7 separate regions of the Homo sapiens genome follow, and all the other regions are linked to region 4. The links are contacts of gene promoters, found by promoter capture Hi-C in blood cells and fetal thymus (Javierre and others, 2016). All regions are on one chromosome and are shown on one strand. Each heading gives the region's core, a stretch centred on a gene start or on the middle of the fragment in contact. The rest is flanking DNA. Distances are from core to core; before and after follow the strand shown.

Evidence for each region. Contacts are between HindIII fragments. The CHiCAGO score rates a contact against its expected background, and 5 or more counts as called.
Region 1: a fragment that was not itself captured here is called in contact with the fragment with the promoter of CFAP54 in region 4 in 5 of 17 cell types (neutrophils, total CD4 T cells, monocytes and 2 more); the score reaches 9.5 in neutrophils.
Region 2: a contact is called between a fragment that was not itself captured here and the fragment with the promoter of CFAP54 in region 4, in 16 of 17 cell types (fetal thymus, neutrophils, naive CD4 T cells and 13 more). The highest score is 15.7, in fetal thymus.
Region 3: a fragment that was not itself captured here is called in contact with the fragment with the promoter of CFAP54 in region 4 in 17 of 17 cell types (naive CD8 T cells, non-activated CD4 T cells, naive CD4 T cells and 14 more); the score reaches 18.9 in naive CD8 T cells.
Region 5: a contact is called between a fragment that was not itself captured here and the fragment with the promoter of CFAP54 in region 4, in 1 of 17 cell types (neutrophils). The highest score is 6.8, in neutrophils.
Region 6: a fragment that was not itself captured here is called in contact with the fragment with the promoter of CFAP54 in region 4 in 15 of 17 cell types (activated CD4 T cells, total CD4 T cells, naive CD8 T cells and 12 more); the score reaches 23.5 in activated CD4 T cells.
Region 7: a fragment that was not itself captured here is called in contact with the fragment with the promoter of CFAP54 in region 4 in 4 of 17 cell types (activated CD4 T cells, M2 macrophages, naive CD4 T cells and 1 more); the score reaches 7.3 in activated CD4 T cells.

Annotation. Positions count from the first base shown.
Region 1 is chr12:96,006,342-96,009,200 of GRCh38, forward strand. It overlaps LTA4H (leukotriene A4 hydrolase), which reads right to left. Exons shown (of 19, transcript NM_000895.3): 15 at 2,753-2,807; 16 at 1-68. All of the region lies in intron 3 of LOC102723340 (a long non-coding RNA gene), which reads left to right. Among named protein-coding and RNA genes, the nearest start is that of HAL, 11 kb to the left of the region's middle. The HindIII fragment of the contact is 1,397 bases long and covers 625-2,021 here.
Region 2 is chr12:96,025,206-96,028,291 of GRCh38, forward strand. LTA4H (leukotriene A4 hydrolase) reads right to left here. Exons shown (of 19, transcript NM_000895.3): 3 at 2,239-2,359. Among named protein-coding and RNA genes, the nearest start is that of LTA4H, 8.8 kb to the right of the region's middle. The HindIII fragment of the contact is 1,217 bases long and covers 813-2,029 here.
Region 3 is chr12:96,069,323-96,072,350 of GRCh38, forward strand. No RefSeq gene overlaps it. Among named protein-coding and RNA genes, the nearest start is that of TRD-GTC2-8, 35 kb to the left of the region's middle. RefSeq lists an enhancer at 1,935-2,435. The HindIII fragment of the contact is 5,233 bases long and covers 1-3,028 here.
Region 4 is chr12:96,488,122-96,490,870 of GRCh38, forward strand. It overlaps CFAP54 (cilia and flagella associated protein 54), which reads left to right and starts at 1,456. Exons shown (of 68, transcript NM_001306084.2): 1 at 1,456-1,805. The coding sequence starts at 1,489. RefSeq lists a silencer at 1,310-1,604 and an enhancer at 1,495-1,704. The HindIII fragment of the contact is 3,410 bases long and covers 901-2,749 here.
Region 5 is chr12:95,984,541-95,987,677 of GRCh38, forward strand. HAL (histidine ammonia-lyase) reads right to left here. Exons shown (of 21, transcript NM_002108.4): 12 at 2,527-2,674; 13 at 1,525-1,620; 14 at 1,368-1,426. Among named protein-coding and RNA genes, the nearest start is that of HAL, 10 kb to the right of the region's middle. RefSeq lists an enhancer at 1,416-1,560 and a cis regulatory region at 1,488. The HindIII fragment of the contact is 6,490 bases long and covers 1-3,137 here.
Region 6 is chr12:96,050,438-96,053,330 of GRCh38, forward strand. LOC124902990 (a long non-coding RNA gene) reads left to right here and starts at 2,211. Exons shown (of 2, transcript XR_007063413.1): 1 at 2,211-2,309. The HindIII fragment of the contact is 8,479 bases long and covers 1-2,893 here.
Region 7 is chr12:96,117,316-96,120,247 of GRCh38, forward strand. No RefSeq gene overlaps it. Among named protein-coding and RNA genes, the nearest start is that of LINC02452, 54 kb to the right of the region's middle. The HindIII fragment of the contact is 1,429 bases long and covers 537-1,965 here.

The DNA of each region.
Region 1 (2,859 bases), core at 73-2,572, 480 kb before region 4:
TTCAATTGATGAGAAGAGAGATCCTTCAGGTCTGTGGCATTGAATGAATTTAAATCATCTTCTTTGGCCTGAAATAAATGTTACCTAGTTATTTTTGTTCAAGTACAATTTAATAATACTTATTGGTTTATCTGACATAAAAGTAAAAATTGAGAAAAAGAACCATATGAATGAACAAGATTATTCAAAATAAATTTAAGCCTGAGTTACTTAAATAATCCTGAGATTGAGTTACTGTAATTTAAATAGCTGATATGACTCCTAGAATCTATATTACTTAAGAAAAAGTAGATTATGGGTAGGAAGAGTGGAAGAAACTGTTGACATTCATTGTACCATTCGAGGTATAGAAATTTCCAAAGCAAAGAAACATTTCAAAATGTATGCATGTCAACTAATCTATAGACCAATTCAAAAAGGTAAAGAATGAAATCGTATATTTTTAAATATTACATTAATAAATTGGTAAGGCCATAAACTAATGTTTTCCTCCATCCCCACATATTCTGTTTTCCCCACTTAATCTTAGAAACCATCTAAGAAAAATAAAAATGAGTCTGCACTTTTCAAATTTGGATTTACTCTCAAAAATCTTTGAGAAGATGATTAAGCAATATTAAATAAAGCTTATAAAAATAAGGATTTTTAAATCTTTTAGAACTACTTTTATAATCTTTTAAACTAGGGCTTTTGTTACTTTAAAAGAAATATATGCAAATACTAAAAAATCAAATAGGACAGAAGGAAAAATTCTTTTGGATCTGCTCCCTGTCTCCAAGTACTACTCCTCAGTAACTAATATTAGTAGTTTCTGTATATCCTTCCACTAAATTTAATGCATAGGTATATACCCTTTTAAATAAATATTTTGCATCTTCCCCCTCTTCAGAACTCTCTTTAATAGCAATACTTCTTTTCCCTTTACAACTTATCCTTAATATGAGAACTTACAGCTCCAGCTCATTTTCTGTGCAAAAACCTGCAAATCTAAACTATATATTAATTAAGGATATATTTATGTGGTAAAAACATAAAAAGCAAGAGAATGATAAACCAAAATTCAGGACAATGGTAACCTGGATGGGTCAGCAAGGAGGGTGGAGAGGGGCATAAGATGGGGAGGGATGCTACAGAGGTACCGCTAAGATTTTACTTCTTATGCTAGTGGTGGGTCACACAATTGTTTTATACACCATATGAATATGTTATAAATATTCTTTTGCATTTATTTACTATTTAAGACAAATCATTGAGAAATAAAATACATAAGGAAAAGAGTGCATTAGTGAATACAGTGTCCTGAATCTGTTCCTAACAATGCCTGTTTCTACTAATATTGAAGAGTTGATCATTATCCACCTTAACTGCTGGGCCCAAAGGAATATTTGAGCAGAAATTAGTAGCAGTTTTAACTAGCACCAAATAAGCTGGAATACATTTTTCAAACTAAAACAGAGAATTTTAATACACTCACACTGTTAAAAAATCCTGTTTCCCATAGAAATCTCTTATACTTTTCTTCATGACAAGTTTGTCAACTACACAAAACAGGTTTTAAAAGGCAATAGCTGAACTGATTGCACAGCTGGAGGCCATTATCCTAAGTGAATTAACACAGGAACAGAAAACCAAATACAGCATGTTCTCACAAGTGAGAGCTAAACGACTGTATATTCATGGACATAAAAGTGGCAACAATAGATACTGGGCACTACTAGGAGTGGGGCAAGGGTTGAAAAACTACTGGGTACTGTGCTCAGTACCTGGGTGATGGGATCAATCATACCCCAAACCTTAGCATCACACAATATGCACGTGTAACAAACCTGCACATGTGTCCCCTGAACTTAAAAGTTGAAATTACGTAAAAAAATGATAAATCTGTTGCAAATTAATAGGAATAAAAGTATTCCTAAATCTTCTGTTATTTTTCATTAAAGAATTATCAAGGGCTCATCCTTACTTTGGCTTCAGTAAAGGGTTCTATTTTAGTACATATATGAAGAAGCTCCTCTTTAAGAAGCTTCATAGAAAGTGAACAAAGAGCAAAAGTGCTTCGATTCTTTGCACCACTAATAGTCAGCAGCTGGTCACCCAAGATCATTTTAGATTTACCTGGTATGTGAAATTGCCATATTGGAAGCAGTATCTTATAAATGATTTAAAAGGAAAAGAAGAAAGGTAAGATGCAAATATTTTTGCATACTTTTTTTTTTTAAGAGTTAAGAAGCAAGAAAAATCAGGATTAATGCCTTCAACATCAATTTTTCCCCCCATAAAACTTAATTTTCTAGGCTGGGCACAGTGGCTCATGCCTGATGCCTGTAATTCCAGCACTTTGGGAGGCTAAGGTGGGAGGATCACTGGAGACCAGGAGTTTGAGACCAGCCTGTACAACACAGACCCTGTTTGTATAAAAAGTTTTAAATTAGCCAGGCATGGAGGCACATGCCTGTAGTCCCAGTTACTCGGGAGGCTGAGGTGGGACAACTGACTGAGCCCAGGAGGTTGAGGCTGCAATGAGCCATGATCACGCCACTGTAGTCCAGCCTGGGCAACAGAGCAAGACCCTGTCTCAAACCCTTAATTTTCTATATTGAGAGTAGATATAATATCACCTTAGATAAACCTGACTTTCAAATAGCCTTTCCAAATATAACTGTTTGTGATTTAAAGTACCCTCCCTGCTTCATGAGTAAAGACATATTTGCACAATTCAAAAAGGAATCAAAAATCACACATTATTACTTACAGTAATCCATCTTTGACTTAAGGCAATACAAGCATTTGTCAGAGTCATATCATAACTGCAAAGATAAAGATTACATTGTTTAAAAATGCACGTGCTTTTGCAGAAAT
Region 2 (3,086 bases), core at 171-2,670, 460 kb before region 4:
TGCAGAGCCACTAGAATATTAGCCGCCTGAAGGCTCTGAACAGACCTACAATAAAGAAACCTGTTTGATTTCTTACATTTATGTTAACACAAAACCCATTTCTCTCTGGTTTAACACCTAATGGGATGTCAGTATTCTAATGAACACAGCCTGAGAAATGTTGCTGTAATCCTGACACTTCAATCTTGCAGCAAACCTTGTAAGTAAAACAAAGAAGCAAAGAAGGGAGAAAGAACAGTCTCTTTCAATACCATCTAGACATATTCATTCATATCATATGCAAAGTGTTTCTGTACTGCCACACCAATCGTTATTAACATTGGTTCCATCCAGTATGACCACAGGCCAGGTGCCGTGGCTCACTCCTGCAATCCCAGCACTTTGGGAGGCTCAGATGAGAGGATTGCTTGAGCTCTAGAATTTGAGACCAGCCTGGGCAACATAGTGAGACCTTACCTCTACACAAAAAAAATTAGCTGGGCATGGTGGTGCACACCTGTAGTCCCAGCTACTCAGGAGGCTGAGGTAAAAGGATCGCTTGAGCCCAGGAGTTCTAGGCTGCAGTGACCCAAGTTCGCACCATTGCACTACAGCCTGGGCAACACAGCAAGACCCTGTCTCCAAAAAAAAAAAAAAAAGAGCACCTACAATCTTATACCCGGTCTGTTTACAAATAAGTCTGTCTACTGCTGGTGAACAATGAAATGAAAACCCAGCCTCATTGAGACAGTCTACTAAACTCAAAGGAATTCTGATATTAACACCCTTCTCTGAAGCTATTACAAATCCTAAACATACTTCATTCCACCACAAGCTTTCTTAAAACCCCCAAACTCCAGGTCTTTTCATTTCAGTTCTAGAAAATTCTCCAAAGATATAGGCTCCCAAATGACCTCTAGATGGATTAAGTAGGACTAGCAGAGCCACCTGGTTCTCTCTCCCAAAATAGATTTCCAAGACCATGCCTCTATAGTTCCTTAATGGTTTCTAGTTAGGTGACATGGCAACACCAAAGGGGTTTTTAAATGTATTTCATTGGATAAGGCCAAACCCAGGCAAATATGCATACAGAACAACCGTAAGCAAATTCATCAAACAAAATCATGTCTACATGATTCCTATCACCTCAATCATTTATTAATTTAGCTGAAATCTGTTTCCCATATTCCCACCATTGCTGCCAATAAGAAATGGAATAATATATTCAAAATTAACATTTTCATGACTCATAAATCTTGCATTTCTTGCCAACTTTGGTTAATAGACATTCTATTAAGACATACTGCCTGAAAATCAGATATTTATGAGATACAGATTGTGCAATTTGTACACTCTTGCGTAGAACATTTCATCTCTTCTAGATTATTAAACTGAGGGTTTCTTAGATTAAAAAGATGTTTCAAGTGGCCATAGAAAGTAAACAGGTCTGATTCATATGCTAATTCCTTTTTTAAATGGACTTGTATTGAAATTTGAACCTAACACACAGGAATATTGGGAGGGATGAAACATGTAAAGAATCTAGCACAATGCCTGGAAATAGAGCAAACGTTTAATGAAGTCAGTTCCCTTAATTGTAAATTATTTGATTACTATGAAAAGTAGGTATTTTTTCTTTCAGAAGACAGTTTGAAATGTATTATCCTTGTGACAGGTTATCTCTAATTGTATGGCTCTTTACCCTTAGTTTTAAAACAGAAAACAAAAGTAGTTTAAGTCATGCAATTTTAAAGGTACAGTTAATATATTGATATAATACATACTTTTGTAAATGTGTAAGAAAAATATGGAAAAGCTACATTCCAAACTCAATGGTGGTTACCTCTGGGCAATGGTGTCTGGAAAAGGTTTGGAAATTAAATCTTTCACTTTCCATTTCTTTACTATTAGCATTTTTCATAACCAGTACATATTATTTATTAATTTTTCCTTTCATTTTATGACTATTTACTGAGTACCTACTCTCTGCTAAGTTCTAAGTCAGGCCTAGAGAGTCCAATCTAGGTGGACATATTTCCAAACTGAAAGAAGCTTCTTATTTAAAGTAAGGCATGAGTGTATTAATAGTGAAAGATAAAATGAAAATATATAATTCATCTTATATGTTTCTATAAGATCAATTAATACATTTTATTAGGTAAAACCTACATAATCCATAAAACCACTGTTCATTTTGCTTCATTCAACCATAGGTGCTGAAATTTTCTGCATCAGAAATCATTCTGGAATCCTTTTTACCTGGCACTGACTAAAGAGATATGGGTGTTCCTTCCCAGAAGTCTGTTCAGGAGTGAGCCACTGGAGAGCAGAAGATTTTGGAGAGGTCTCAAAAGAAATTTCTATAACAATTTCTTGATTTCTGTATGAAACACATAAATATATTAGTAGAGTATGATTCCATCTAGTGAAAATTTAAACTCATAATACATACACTGAATAATATAAATAACATAGTATGCATTCTCATCACTGATTGGCAGTAAGCTCTAGGTATGCCACATCCTCAGTGGGTAAGTCTCCTCTCAGTTTTCCTACCTAATTGCCAGCCTGTGGGTCCTTTTACCTCTCCCATGCTAACTGCTAGCGAAGGCTTAATGGCAACTAACAGTGGTTGACTACCCCGTTGTGTGTCACGTACTTTGCATCTGTGATATCATTTAATATTTTATTAGAGTGAAAAAGTAAAAGAAATCATTTTTGGGGCTTCAACTACCACAGCAGCAGGTGCCACAGCATGACACAGAGCAGTGCTAGTCTGCAAACTGTTACCGGCCCAGGACAAGACAAGACCAGAAGTTGAGAGTCAGCATTGCAAAACTTTTAGAGTCATTTTTGTCTGTTGAATCTAATAATAAAAAATGTGTGCTTGTATTTCATCTCTTCTTCCTCATATTTCATTTTTATTGCATTGTACAAAAGTATCAGTCTATGACAGATTGAAGAGGATAGAAATTGGTCCTTTACCCCAGAGAGTTTGAGAAGCACTGATAATAAGGAAACAGCAGAGGTTTAGAGACCAGCAGCCCTGCTGGTGTTCGAATCCTGACTCTATCACTTACTGGTACTGTAAACTTGGGGAAATTATT
Region 3 (3,028 bases), core at 51-2,550, 420 kb before region 4:
TCCAAAATGTCAATGGTGCTGAGGTTGAGAACCCTGACCTAAACCAGTCCTGGTGGTCTCATTCCCTAGCTGTTAGTGGTTTAGATCCCATGATGTTAAGTAATTCTGACCAATGAGACGTGAGCAGAAATTGACAAGAGGAGTATGGCAGAGAATGTTAATTTCTCCCTACATTCACTTTACCTTTCTTTTCAGCAGAAGTTACATTCAGTGTTAGCTAGGCGCATGCCCAATTACAGACTATAATTCCCAGCCTCCATCGTTGCAAGGTGTGGCCAAGTTTTGGCTAATGGGATGTGAGAAAAAAATAATGAGTCTAATTTCTAGACCATGTTTTTAAGAAGGAGAATGCTTGTTCTTTACTTTCTCTCTTAATCCCTTTCTGCACACTGGGTGGTACTGCTAATCCAGCTTCAAGCAAGCACATGACTCCAGAGAATGGCAGAGCAAGACAGAAAGACTTACATACATTGGGACTGATACATGAAAAGAAAATAAATTGCTTTCTTCTTTGAACCATCGTATTTTTTAGTTTTTTTGTTTTAGCAGTTTAAGCTGTATGTATATGAGGTACTCCTGGGGAAGGTTTTTTCCTCTGTGATCACACACACACATACACACACACACACACACACACACACGGAGGGAATATTCATCTAAAGGATGTTGTAGGATTTGTGTGAGATGGCTGGAACCATGGCTGCTATCTTGTGACCATGAGGGGAGGTACCTGGTGGTTCAAAACTGCCCTGCTAAGTGAGAACGGAATAGGAAGGTTGTAAACAGCCCAAATCTTTCTTAACCTTGTTAAGCCATTGAGTTGACGAACTTTGCATCTGTCCTGTCTCAGGACTTCTTGTTAAGCAAGATGGTATATTTTTCATATCGTTTAAATATTTGGCCTTTAAATTTTCAGTAATAGTCCTTACAGTGATGGCTTTCAGACAGAAAATTAAAAATTTTAAAAAGTGCTATCCTAACTGATTCTCTCAATGTATTCAAGTGTAAAGAAATTACATGTCTAACCTCTCATGGAATTAGAGGGAAAAAATTTCATGTTATTTTAAGTATGTTCAGTTCTTTTATTAACTCATATTGGTTTCCCCCCTACTCCTTACCCTTGCAACCAAGATAATTTGCATCTAAGAGGTTTTATTCTGTTTCCACTGATATGTTTAGAAATTACTATATCTGAGGTGGGTATATTGGGAAAACATACACTACCACTCCTTTGCAGAAATGAGGGCTTATTGCAGCAGCTACTCGCCCTTGCAATGCTTCCTGCTTGGAAACTCGAAGGACTACATTGAGCAGGTGGAATAAAGTTGAATCGAAGGTTCAACTTACAAGCAGTCAGGAGGAGGTCTGCCCTGAAGCACTGTGCAGACTGGGACCTGCAGCAGGGCTGGGAGGGGGAGTGTCGAGGAAATGCCTTTTGCATGTCAATGGAGCCCCGTTGCTGTTCTGTGCTGCACAGCCACATGAGGTCATCCCAGATTAGAGGGTGCCCATGTCCAGGATCTTAAACCAATTACTTCCATCTCCATTGCTTCCTCTAAAGCCTCACTCTTAGTTCTACACAGTAATACTGCCTGGAAACTCCCCAAGGCCACCAAGCTCATACTAACAGGTTTGTGATGTGGGCAAACTCCTTACATGATCTCAAAATGAAAGAAGAGGCTGTTCACTGGAGGCAATAGCAAATCCCCTTTGTTCCTCTCTTGGCAGATGAGGGCCTTCGCTCTCTCCCTAAGGGTTCCGCCTGTCACCATCTGTGCACCCACTGTGGAAGGGCCAGCGCTAAGGTGAATTTCCATTTACTTCCTGCCAGCAGATGGCTCCTCCTTTTGGTCTCATCTTGAATTGTTTGCCAGACCAGCCAATTAGTCTCCTCACCCTTCCTGAAGCGTCCCAGGGAAGCAATATCATCACCAGCAGCCTATCATTATACCACGTCTTCTAAGCACCGTGATTCTAAATGCCTGCCGTGGAACAGAAGCTCATTCGCACATGGCTCTTTAACCCTTCCTTGAAAGACCTCAATTCAACATTCTCTCTCTCGCTCACACACACACACACACACACACAAATGCACACTCACACACAGTACCTACAACCTGATCCAAGATAGGAAACAAAATGACAGTATGCGGCATTCAATAATAAATTTAAAAATAAGACATAATTTCAGACAGAATGCAGAAGGAAAAACACAGTAACTATATTTTCTGATCCCCACTGAGGACACAATAAAAACTTTTTTTTAGGCCAGGCACGGTGGCTCACGTGTGTAACCCCAGCACTGTGGGAGGCCGAGGCGGGCGGATCACGAGGTCAGGAGGTTGAGACCATCCTGACTAACATGGTGAAACCCTGTCTCTACTAAAAATACAAAAATTAGCCTGACGTAGTGGCGTGTGCCTGTAATCCCAGCTACTTGGGAGGCTGAGGCAGGAGAATCTCTTGAACCAGGGAGTTAGAGGTTGAAATGAGCCGAGATCGCACCACTGCACTCCAGCCTGGCGACAGAGCAAGACTCCATCACAAAAAAAATAATGATACAAAAAAATTAATTAAATAAATAAAAATTAAAAATAAAAAAAAGTGGAGGGTTTTTTTTTTTTTTTTTTTTTGACAGAGTCTTGCTCTGTCGCCAGGCTGGAGTGCAGTGGCGCAATCTCGGCTCACTGCAACCTCCAACTCTCTGGTTCAAGAGATTCTCCTGCCTCAGCCTCCCGAGTAGCTGGGATTACAGGCACACACTACCACGTCCTGCTAATTTTTGTATTTTTAGTAGAGTCGGGTTTTACCATGTTGGCCAGGCTGGTCTTGATCTCCTGACCTCGTGATCCTCCCACCTCAGCCTCCTAAAGTTCTGGGATTACGGGAATGAGCCACTGCATCCGGCCAAAACTTTTTTTTTTTTTACCTTGTGGATTTGTTCATATGAAAGAAATCTTTTAAGGATATAAAATCAAATTGCACTGAGTTACATTTAACAAAGTATCTTTATCAGAAAAGAGTATAT
Region 4 (2,749 bases), core at 206-2,705:
GGAAAATTGGGTTCACAGGGTGTTAGGGTCACTGTCTTTATTTAAGTGTGATAGAACTGGTAACAATTTTCAGGGTTAAAGACTGATTTTTCTAAGCCACCAAATATTTCTGGTTCTTCTCTTAGATAATTTATTGTGTTGCATAATTTATAGAAAAGAAGGTTCTCCATTTTCTCAATACTCATACTTTAATAAATTTAACTCTGACTTTTGCCTATAATACACAGGCTAAGAATAAACTCCCCAAGTATTTCCCTGGAGGTCTGTAGTTTCCCCATCAGAAGTAAAGTCTCCTAAAAGCCCTGTTTAAAATGCAAAGTATTTTGAGAGTTAACACTTCAGGCCACTAGTATGTATTAATGTCCTATGGTTAAGGTTGAGCAAAATGCACATTAATTTAGAATACAGAGATAATTAAAGTAAGGCTGGAATGTGCATAAATAGATGTAATCATAATTATTAGAGGCATAGACATCATGTCCACAGTTACAGACCTCAAGGTACAAATAGAGGAAAGAGAATGGATCAGCTGCATATTCAGTACTCCCTGGCTATCTGTGGGGGACTAGTTCCATGACACCCGCAGATACCAAAATCTGTGGATGCTCAAGCCTCTGATATGAAATGCTGTAGTATTTGCATATAATTTGTGCACATCCTTCAGGATGTTTTAAATCATCTCTAGATAACTAGTAATACCTAATACAGTATAAATGCCATGTAAATAGTTGTATTTTGTGTTATTTTTATTGTTGTATTGTTATTTCTAATTTTGTTCTGAATATTTACAATCTGGAGTTGCTTGAATCCACAGATGAAGAACCCGAGATTTGGAGGGCCAACTGTATTTGATTCTTAAACTGCTTGTCAGATATTTCTCTAATTTCAATTTGATTAATAAGCTTTGTTTTGGGGAGTGATCAATACAGCCTATTCATTTTGAGCACAGGCTTTGGAGTCACAAGTTCCCTTTGGAGGACCTGGTCGCTGACACTACGGTTGTACGCTGACTTTTGTCAAATGACTTAACCTCCTTGAGCTTTGGTTTCCTAAACTGTGAGATGGATATACTAATAGTATCCTAAGTTGTAAAGTAGTTATGATGATTAAATGAGATAAATGAAAGTACATGTTTCAAATGCTTAATGCCTGACACACGTTAATGGTCATGGTCGTCATCATTATCGTTATTAAGTGGCCAACATGGATAAAGAGTATAGTCTGGATTTGTGACCTTAAATTTTTGGCTCTAATATTCGCCAGCGCTCTGCTCAGAACATTCTCTGTTCGCATTTCATACAGCGGTGCCAGCGCACAACCAGGCAACGCCCTCAGGAGCATCATTGTTTTCTGGACCTGGTTCTTTCTCGCTCTGCCCTCCAGGGGCCGCTGTGTTTCTCGGAATGCGCGCGGGATGCCCGGTTGCCACGAGACCGTCGCCAGGCAACCGCGTGTACACATACTCCAGGCGGGCCGGGGCGCGTCAATATGGCGGCGCAGGGCTCCCCCTCGAGCTCTCCGTCAGACGACTCTACCACCTCGGGGTCTCTGCCAGAACTGCCGCCGACCTCCACCGCGACTTCGAGGTCGCCCCCAGAGTCGAAGGGGAGCTCCCGGAGCTCGCTGCTTCAGTGGACCTGCCCCGAGGACTCATTGCCCCTAGCCGTGTTTTATGGGCCGCTGGACGCGAAAAACCCGCTCCTGGCCTCTTGTGAGAAGGAGATCCAGGAGTTGTTAGGCTTTATGAGGAAAAAGAAGGCTTTAGCCACCACGGAGGAAGAGAAGCACGAATTCCGCCGGCGTTGGTAAGCGCTGGCGGGGCACTGGGGAGGGCGCCGGCCAGAGGAGGGACCCCTGGAAAGGGCTGGAGGATGCAGGTGGTGGCCCCAGAGATGGTTCAGCGTTGCGGACGCAGGGGCTGGCTGAAGGGCCCAGGAGAGACAAAGTTTAAGAAGTGGAGACTCGTCGCTCTTAACAATCCTTAATTCCTGGGAGCTGTTATATCTTGGCTTCCTGCTCAGGTCAAAATAAAAATCTACACAGAAATGTTTCATAACTCACCATTTGTTATTTGACCAGAAAAGAAAGATGGTAACATAAGCAGGAAAGAACCTTAAAAAGAGTTCGCAGTTTGCAGTAATAACATGGTGATAGAACTCCCAAAAAGGCAAACAGTTGCGCAGAATGAATAGCAAAATTAAGAAAAAGTCACTGTAATCCTAATAGCAATATAAGAAGGAATTAAAGTGCACATGTTCACAGGATGACATACTTCATTGTATCAAGAGCTAGCTTCATGAACCTGAGCTACCTCGAAGTTATTCCTTTTTCTCCATATACAAATTTATATACTCATAACATGGAAAGTTGTGAAACCCTTGAGCGAGCCAAAAATTTATACATGAATACAAAATACGAAAATTAGCTGGGCATGGTGGCACATGCCTGTACTCCCAGCTACTCAGGAGGCTGAGGCAGGAGAATTGCTTGAACCCGGGAGGCAGAGGTTGCAGTGAGCTGGGATCGCGCCACTACACTCCAGCCTGGGCGACAGAGCAAGACTCCTTCTCAAAAAATAATAATAATAAATAAATAAAATAAAATATTTTTTATTTATGCATATAACAACTATTTATTGAGCACATACTGTATATCAAGTGCTGTTCAAGGAACTAGGAAAACATCAAGTTAACAAAACATATAAGAATCCATGTCCTTATAGAGCATATGTTTTTGTGGGTATAAACAA
Region 5 (3,137 bases), core at 129-2,628, 500 kb before region 4:
AATAGCCACAATGCTATAAAGCAGCACCTGGCTCTGGTTTCTCCCAGAAGTCAAGGAAGTAATTATCTGTCTGTGTGATCGTGGGCAAGATACTTAATTCTGTGCCTCAGTTTCCCCATTGCAAAATGGGAGAAAGAGTATCTTATAGTTGGGAAGATTAAATGAATTAATAAATGAAAGACAGTGATAATGGTGCCTGTCACATAGAATCTGCTATCGTTATTAAAATATCAGGGAAGTCTTACATCAGGACTTAATCTTCCTGTAGATCTAATTTGGCAATTCTTACCCATAGGTGTTTTGATCTATTGCTCAATAAGCTAGCTAGAAAAGATAACTTGCTGACTAAAGGGAAATGAGGGTATTTATTCTAGGGAGGACTCTCTATTACACCATAGACTGAAATTTGGCACAGACCAAAATATGGTTTATTGAGATGACTGGCTCTCTAACTGTCATATGTAAATTACACATCTGTAATACAGATGCCTAATGCCAACCCAGGTCATCTGCATTTTTAATTTAAAGTTAAGCATCACAAATTCATTTAAAATAATTTATATTGCCCATAAAATGCAAGTAAGGTATAACCATTACTATGCACCTGAGTTTCAAAATGATATAATTAAGACTTTCCTGTAAACACCTCTGACTATCTGGTTAAAGTTTCATCTTAACAGGGAGAAACAGTACAACTCTACTAACTGGTTATGATTTTATTACTAAGAATTTTTAAAAGTTAGGGCACTGAATCAACATAAGAGGTTGTCTGGGCCGGGGACGGTCCTCACGCCTGTAATCCCAGCACTTTGGGAGGCTGAGGCAGGTGGATCATTTGAGGTCAGGGGTTCGAGACCAGCTTGGCCAACATGGTGAGACCCCATCTCTACTAAAAATACAAAAATTAGGCATGGTGGCACATGCCTGTAATCCCATCTACTCGGGAGGTTGAGGCAGGAGAATCACTTGAACCTGGGAGGTGAAGATTGTAGTGAACAGAGATCATGCCACTGTACTCCAGCCAGGGTGACAGAGTGAGACTCTGTCTCCAAATCAAAGAGGTTATTTGTTGGTTGTCTGTCTCAAAAAAAAAAAAAAAAAAAAAAAGAGGTTGTCCTCTGAAAGTAGGTTGAACAATCAAAAGAAAACAAATAGTTCACCATATAGAATAGAAACTTTACAACAATTGCACACATAAAGGTAAAATATACATAACTTTTCATAGAGACAGTAAGAAATTTGGACTATAGTTGACCATTACATGTTTTTCTAACACTTTCCTATTTTAAAATTTTTCATCCTGAACCTGGGGAAAGAAAAACTTTATTGGCATTTTTTATTGACCTTTTTTTTTTTCTTTATTTTACCTGTGGACAGCAGCGCAAGGTGTATGCATCCTGGACGCGATCACAGAACCTGTGACTCTCTGTGGAAGAGGTGGAGGGGATGAGACAGGGATCATGTTACCAATTCTTTTCACAAAACACGTAACCAAATAGGTCACTCCCATAAACATGGTCAGACCTGCTATTTCTGATGGGTGGTGATCTGAGTCCAAGAGTGACCGAAACCGAAAAGCAACTTCAATTTGCCCACGGTGAGGTCGAAGAGCATGAATGTCTAGAATTGATGAAGGAGAAAAAGTCTGAATAATTCCATTTATTTATTTTTTTTAAAGATGGGGGTCTCACTACGTTCCCCAGGCTGGTTTCAAACTCCTGGGCTCTAGCGATCCTCCTACCTTGGCCTCCCAAAGTGCTGGGATTACAGGCATGAGCCACCATGCCAGGTCGAGTAATTCTGATATTAGAACAAATGACCATCAATGGTTCAGGACCATCTACGGTGCTGACACAGCCCTCAAAAGTCCCAGGGGTCCTTAGCCACCACTCAGAATTAGAAACTTAACTCCGAAAGCACGATTTTCCTTATTGACTTGACTCCTTCTACTTTAAATATCTGAGAGCAAACTATATGTTGAGACCACTGGGAATTCCACTCAAGACACTGGGCCTACCTTAAAGGAACAGGGCGAATAACAGGAGGGAGCCCTACAGTGGCCTAATTTAACTCATTCACTTTTAGACAATGTTCTGCCCTTTTTCATATTATAGTTGGGAGGTCGTCAAAATTCACTACTTTCTAAATAAGCTACCAATTCGACAGTTTTTCTTCCCCAATTTTCTAGTCGGGACCAACTCTAATCCTACTCCTTTTTACAGGACTCCTAAGTCCTGTAAAAAGATTCCTAAGACAGCACAGAGCTTGACACACCCAGATCCCTGGGTGCTCTCAGGCAAGTCACTCAACTTCCGGGCTGTGTGTATCTGTAAATTGCAGTTCTTTCAAAGATCAGTTGTGCCATAGCCTAGATGAAGAGGCAGCACACTGGGTACGCCACAGGCACTTGGGTTTTCTCCTTCCCTACTACCTGCCCCCACCACTTCTGTGTCTAAAGATCTCAGCCACCCCGCCCCACCACCTCTGGTTGAATGAATAACAACCAAAAGGAAGAACCCTGCTGACCAGTGTCAAAGGCTTTGGTGGTGCCCTTCAGCACCTCAAGGGTCAGGGCTGCCACAATGTCAGCCTGCCGTGCAATAGCACTGGCTCGCTCTACAGCTTCACAGCCCAGGGATGTGATCATCTGCGTCCCATTGATGAGTGCCAGGCCCTGTCGGGGGAGAGAGCAAAGTTTCCTACTGTGATTATTGTAACGAACCTACATACCCGTGGATTTTGTATCTTTTGCTTTCATAAGAGAAAAATTAGCCAGTCATAAACATAAAAAATTATGTTTATGTTTTCTAAAGTGCGGGACAGTAATGTTTATTTAAGCCCTTGAAGAATAAGTGCTATCATATGTGAACTCGTAAGCACAAATCTGGCAAATGAAACACTCATTAAGTATCCACATTCCCAAAGCAGCAATGCAGCTCTGGAGTGTAGACTGCACATAAAATCTTTAGTGCATTAGGTTGCATTTCTTCCTTAAATTCTTACTGTTATAGATGAGACATCCAAAAAAACCCAATTCTGGTCCAAGACTCTTAGCTTAGAGCATTCTAAGGAATTTGGGCTGAGAACATCTATCTCTCAGAGATCCTAACAGAACTCGATTTGAAGTTTTAAGTTCC
Region 6 (2,893 bases), core at 185-2,684, 440 kb before region 4:
GAAACAAAATTAAATACTGCATGTTTTCACTTATAAGTGGGAGGGAGATAAACACAGGGTACACACAGGCATAAAGATAGAAACAATAGACACAGGGGACTCCAAAAGGGGAAAGGGAAGGAGGGAGGAAAGAGAGTTGAAAAACTACCTATTGGGTACTATGTTCATGTTCACCATTTGGGTGACAGTTCAGCAGAAGCCCAAACCTCAGCATTAGGCAATATATTCATGTAACAAACCTGTACATGTACCTCCTGAATCTCAAATTAAAATAATACTACTACTAATAAAGACCAAAGTATTTCAGAGGGAGGAAGAATTTGCATGGTGAAATTTGCGTAGTGAAATTGGCATCCATATGGTGCATAAGGGATATCTTTGGATCTTCTGAATTACATTATATACATTTTTTAAATTAAAATAAATTCTAAAAATGTGGAAGCAGTAATGATGCAGGGTGATGGGTGAAGGCTAAAAGAGTTTTGAGATACATGCTACAAAAAGCCAAGGTTGCTGTGAAAAAATTGCTAAAGATGATTCTGGTGAGGACTCAAAAAGAGCTTCTGTCTTCCTTCTTTGAGGATGCGTAAACAATCGTGAACAGAATGCTAGCAGAAATATAGGTGGCAAAGGCTATTCTGTGAGGCCTCAGATGGAAATGAGGAACATGTTATTGGACAATGGAGAAAATCCTTTTTATAAAGTGGCAAATAACTTACTGAATTGTTTATGTTCTAGTGTTTTGTGGACGGTAGAACTTTCAAACAATGAAATTGGATAGTTGGCTGAGGCCATTTCTAAGCAGAGTGCTGAAAGAGCAGCTTGGTTCCTCTTGACCACTGATAGTAAAATTTAAGAAGAGAGAAATGAATTGAAGAAGAAATTGTTAATCAAAAAATAACCAGCACTTAAAGATTTGGAAAATTCTTAGCCTGTCCTTACTGCAAAAAAAATGAGAAACCATGTTCAGAAGAGTTAGGCCAAGCATGGTGGCTCCTGCCTATAATCCCAGCACTTTGGGATGCCAAAGCAGGCAGATTACTTGAGCTCAGGAGTTCAAGACCAGCCTGGGCAACATGGTGAGACCCCATCTCTATTTTAAAAAATAAAAAAAGAAAAGAAAAGAAGAGATTATTAAGAGTGTGGCTGGTCACCCATTTGATAAGGAGAGTAGTGTGAGTATCAACCATGGACCTAATCAGCCATCTCAACAGAAGCCAGAAATAGAGTTGGGATTATTCCAGGAGAAATAATGCTTTAGTCCCCTGCCAGTTGGGACTAAAAGGAAAAGAGAAAACAAGATGGAATGAAGTAAGGCTGTGAATATGCAATCCCCTTCAGGAAAAGAGAGGAAGGATCCCAAAGGCAATTCAGACATCATCAGGGCTGCTACTCCCACCACAGGCCCAGAGTGGAAAGGCCCCTGGGAACAAGGCTACCTCCATCTTGGTTTCAAAGAGTGGGACTGCTACTCAGCACTCATGTGGGTGTGGCCCTCACAGACAGCCATGTGGGCAGTGCTACACTGAGCTGAAGAAGCAGGGACACCCCACTGAAAGATGGGGGTGATACCTTCCAGTGGTTCTGGAAGGGAGGACCACCACCCCAGTGGGCCTACAGGGCAGAGCATTCTTTGAGCCAAAGAGGATTGTATTTCAGTTTTAAAGCCTAATGAAGTTTGACTTCTAGATTTTGGATTTCTTGGTACTTGTCACCCCTTTCTACCTTTCAATTTCTCCCTTTTGGAATAGGAATATCTATCCTGAGCCTGTTCCATCATTGTATTTCGGAAGCACATAACTTGTCTGGTTTCACAGATTCACAGTTGGAAAGGAATTTTGCCTTAGGGTGAATTTTGAGTCTCACTCATATTGGATTTACATGATATTTAGATGAGACTTTAAACTTTAGAGTTGATGCTGGAATGAGTTGACTTTTGAGACTGTTAAGATGGAATGAATGTATTTTAAATGCAAGGAGGATGTGAATTTTGAGAGGGACAAAGGGCAGAATATTATGAACTAAACGTTTAAGTCTCCCCCAAATTCATATATTGAAGCCCTAACCCCCAATGTGAGGGTATTACGAGGTGAGGTCTTTGGGAGGTAATTAGGTTTGGATGAGGTCATGAGGGTAGATCCCTTGTGATGGAATCAGTGCCCTTATAAGAAGAAGAGAGACTAGAGCTTCCTCTCTCTGCCATGTGAAGATACAGCAAGAAGGTGGCCATCTGCAAGCCAGGAAAAGGGGCCATGGCAAACACTGAATCTGCTCACAGTCTGAACTTGAACTTGTCAGCCTCCAGAATTGTAAGAAATGAATATCTGTTGTTTAAGCCACCCAGTCTATAATATTTTGTTTTGGCAGCCTTAGCTGACCCAGGCACTCACTTATGCTTACATTCTAACTTCTAAATTAAGGCTGCAATATATGAAACATGATCATAGAACTTGTAATTATCTGAGGATCCAGAAAAATCACGAGCCTGCACAAGGTTTATCCAGAGGCAGAGGAAATACCAGTTCACTGAGAAAAATTAAAGGGACAGTAGAAGAATAAAATATAGTTGTTTATAATTGTATGTTACAAATTATGTTTGTGAAGCCAGTTACATAAATAATCTTAAAGATTTAATAGTTTCTGCCTGCATCCAAATAATTGCCATGTGCCTATGTCCATACGCCTATGTCCATACTACTTTGGAAACCTCTAATGAATGAATGTGTAAAGTTTGGATGGGTATTTGAGAGGGAAAATACTTCTTATGAGGTTGACAGTTATAAGCAAAGTTAGGAACAAAAAGCAAATTCAGAAAAAAACTCATCTTTTGTTATGGTCTAAATGTTTGTGTCACCCCCAAAATTTATATGTTGAAATCCTAACCCCCAAGTTG
Region 7 (2,932 bases), core at 1-2,500, 370 kb before region 4:
ATATTTTAGGCTTTGCAGGTCATGAGGTCTCTATTGCAACTACTCAATCCTGCTATTGTATCACAAAAGCAGCCATACATAAATAAACGGGCCAGGCTGGGTTTCAGTAAAACTTTATATATAAAAAAAAAAAAAGTGGTGGGTTCAATTTGCCCTGCAGGCACTAGTTTGCTGACTGCTGCTTTAGAGCAATGCTTCTCAAACTCTTTTGACTAGGAATATATTAGATTATTGCTCAACAGATCGTTGTTTTGTATCTAACTGATGTTGGGCTCAGTCGTGTGACTGGCTTTGATCAATGAGACTGTGGGAGTGAACTTCTCTGACCTTGTCATTCAGCCAATAGGATGTTAGCAGACAGGAGACAAGCAGAGACTTCAAACGTGCTTAGAGGATTAAGTTTGCCCTTTTGTGCCTTTAACATCATGATAAGAGCTTCCCCCAGGAAGCTGCTACCCCTTAGACTAGGCCCAAATAGAAGACATGTGGAGCAGAACCAAGTCCAGTGATGGGGAGCCAAGCTTGGCAAGACCTGAAGCTTGAAGCAGACCTGCTCAGCCAAGCCCAGCCTAGATTAGCTGATTATCAGCTGATCCACAGAGGAGTGAGTGAGCCCAGATGAGATCAGTGGAGCTGCCCAGCCACCCCCAAACTCATGGGAAATAAATGCTTCACACTTTGGGAGGCCGAGGCAGGCGGATCACGAGGTCAAGAGTTGGAGACCATCTGGCCAACATGGTGAAACCCCATCTCTACTAAAAATACAAAAATTAGCTGGGCATGGTGGCTCGCAGCTGTAGTCTCAGCTACTCAGGAGGCTGAGGCAGGAGAATCACTTGAACCTGGGTGGCAGAGGTTGCAGTGAGCTGAGATCGCGCCACTGCACTCCAGCCTAGTGACAAAGCAAGACTCCGTCTCAAAAAAAAAAAAAAAAAAAAAAAAAGTAAATGCCTCATGCTGTGTGCCACTAAGATTTTTGATTGTTATGTGGCATTATTTTAGCAATCTACTGTTACAAACGTGGTCAATAAGAAACAAATCATGCCTTGTGATTCAGATTCATAAACATTATTTTCTTCACAATGGCAGAAACTGAGCAAAAACTTTTTGTAGAAATTGTATAGCAAAATACTTACAAGGTGTTTATCACCTGCCAGGCATTGTTTTAAGTGCTTTTTAGCTTTACTTATTTGTGAGACAGGATTTGGCTCTGTCGCTCAGGCTGGAGTGTCATGGCATGATCTCGGCTCACTGCAACCTCCACCTCCAGGGCTCAAGCAATCCTCCCACCTCAGCCTCCTGAGTAGTTGAGACTACCGGTGCATACTACCATGGCTGGCTAATTTTTGTGTTTTTTATAGAGATGGGGTTTTGCCATGTTGTCCAGGCTGGTTTTGAACTCCTGAGCTTAAGTGATCCCCCTGCCTCAGCCTTCCAAAGTGCTGGGATTACAGGCATGAGCCACCACACCTGAGCTTAAGTGCTTTACATATACCAACCCATTTAATTTTTTTAACCCACTTAATATTTACAATAGCTCTATGAAGAACACATTATTCAGGTGTAAAAACTGAGGCACAGAGAAGTGATTTGCCAAAGGCCACATAGCTAGTAAGTGGTCACACTGTGGAGGTTCAGTACAGCAGGTCTGGCTTTAGAGTCCATGGTTAACTATACTTTGATGTTGTCTATTCTAATATAATCTATTACATTGTTTAAATGGGGGAATAGAAAGTGATGTGGCTAAGAATGCCAAGACAGTTCAATGGGGGAAAGAATAGTCCTTCACAAAAGGATCTGGGACAATTGGATATCCACATGTGAAAGAATGAAGTTGGACCCTTATCTCATATCATATTCACACATTAACTCAAAACAAATCATAGACCTCCATGTGAAAACCAAAATTATAAAATTCTTAGAAGAAAATATAGGAGTAAGTTTCCATAACGTTGGGTTAAGCAAAGCTTTCTTAGGTATGACATCAAAAACATACACAACAGAAGAAAAAATGGATAATTGGACTTAATAAAAATTAGAAATGTTTGCGTCAGTGGACACCATCAAAAGTGAAAGGACAACCCACAGAATGGGAGAAAATACTTGCAAATCATATGTCCGATAAGGGTCTACTCTCCACGATATATAAAGAACTCATGACTCAACGACAAAAAGAAAACAACCCGATTTAAAAATGGGTCAATAGGCCAGGCGCGGTGGCTCATGCCTGTAATCCATGCACTTTGGGAGGCCGAGCCAGGTGGATCACTTGAGGTCAAGAGTTCAAGACCAGCTTGGCCAACATGGTGAAACCCCACCTCTACTTAAAATACAAAAATTAACTGGGCGTGGTAGTGGGCAGCTGTAGTCTCAGCTACTTGGGAGGCTGAGGCAGGAGAACCACTTGAACCCGGGAAGCAGAGGTTGCAGTGAGCCAAGATCGTGCTGCTGCACTCTAGCCTGGCAACAGAGCAAGACTCTGTCTCAAAAAAAAGAAGAAAAAAAATGGATTAAGGATCTGAACAAATATTTCGAGAAAGATACACAAAATGTCCAATAAGCACAACAAAAGATGTATAACGAGGGAAATTCAAATAAAAACCACAAGGAGATACCATTTCACACCCGCTAGAATGACTATTTTTAAAAAGACAAATAATAATTGTTGATGAGGGTGTAGAGAAGTTGGAACCCTGATACTCTGTATTGCTAGTGGGAATATAAAATGGTTTAACCACCCTGGAAAAGAGTCTGTCTGTCCTCAAAATGTTAACCATAGAGTTATCACAGGATCCAGCAGTTCTTATCCTAGGTGTTTACCTAAGAGAATTGAAGACATGTCTACACAAAAACTTACACACAAGTGTTCACGCAACATCATTCATAATAGCCAAAACATGGAAAAAATCCAAATGTCCATCAATTGATAAAT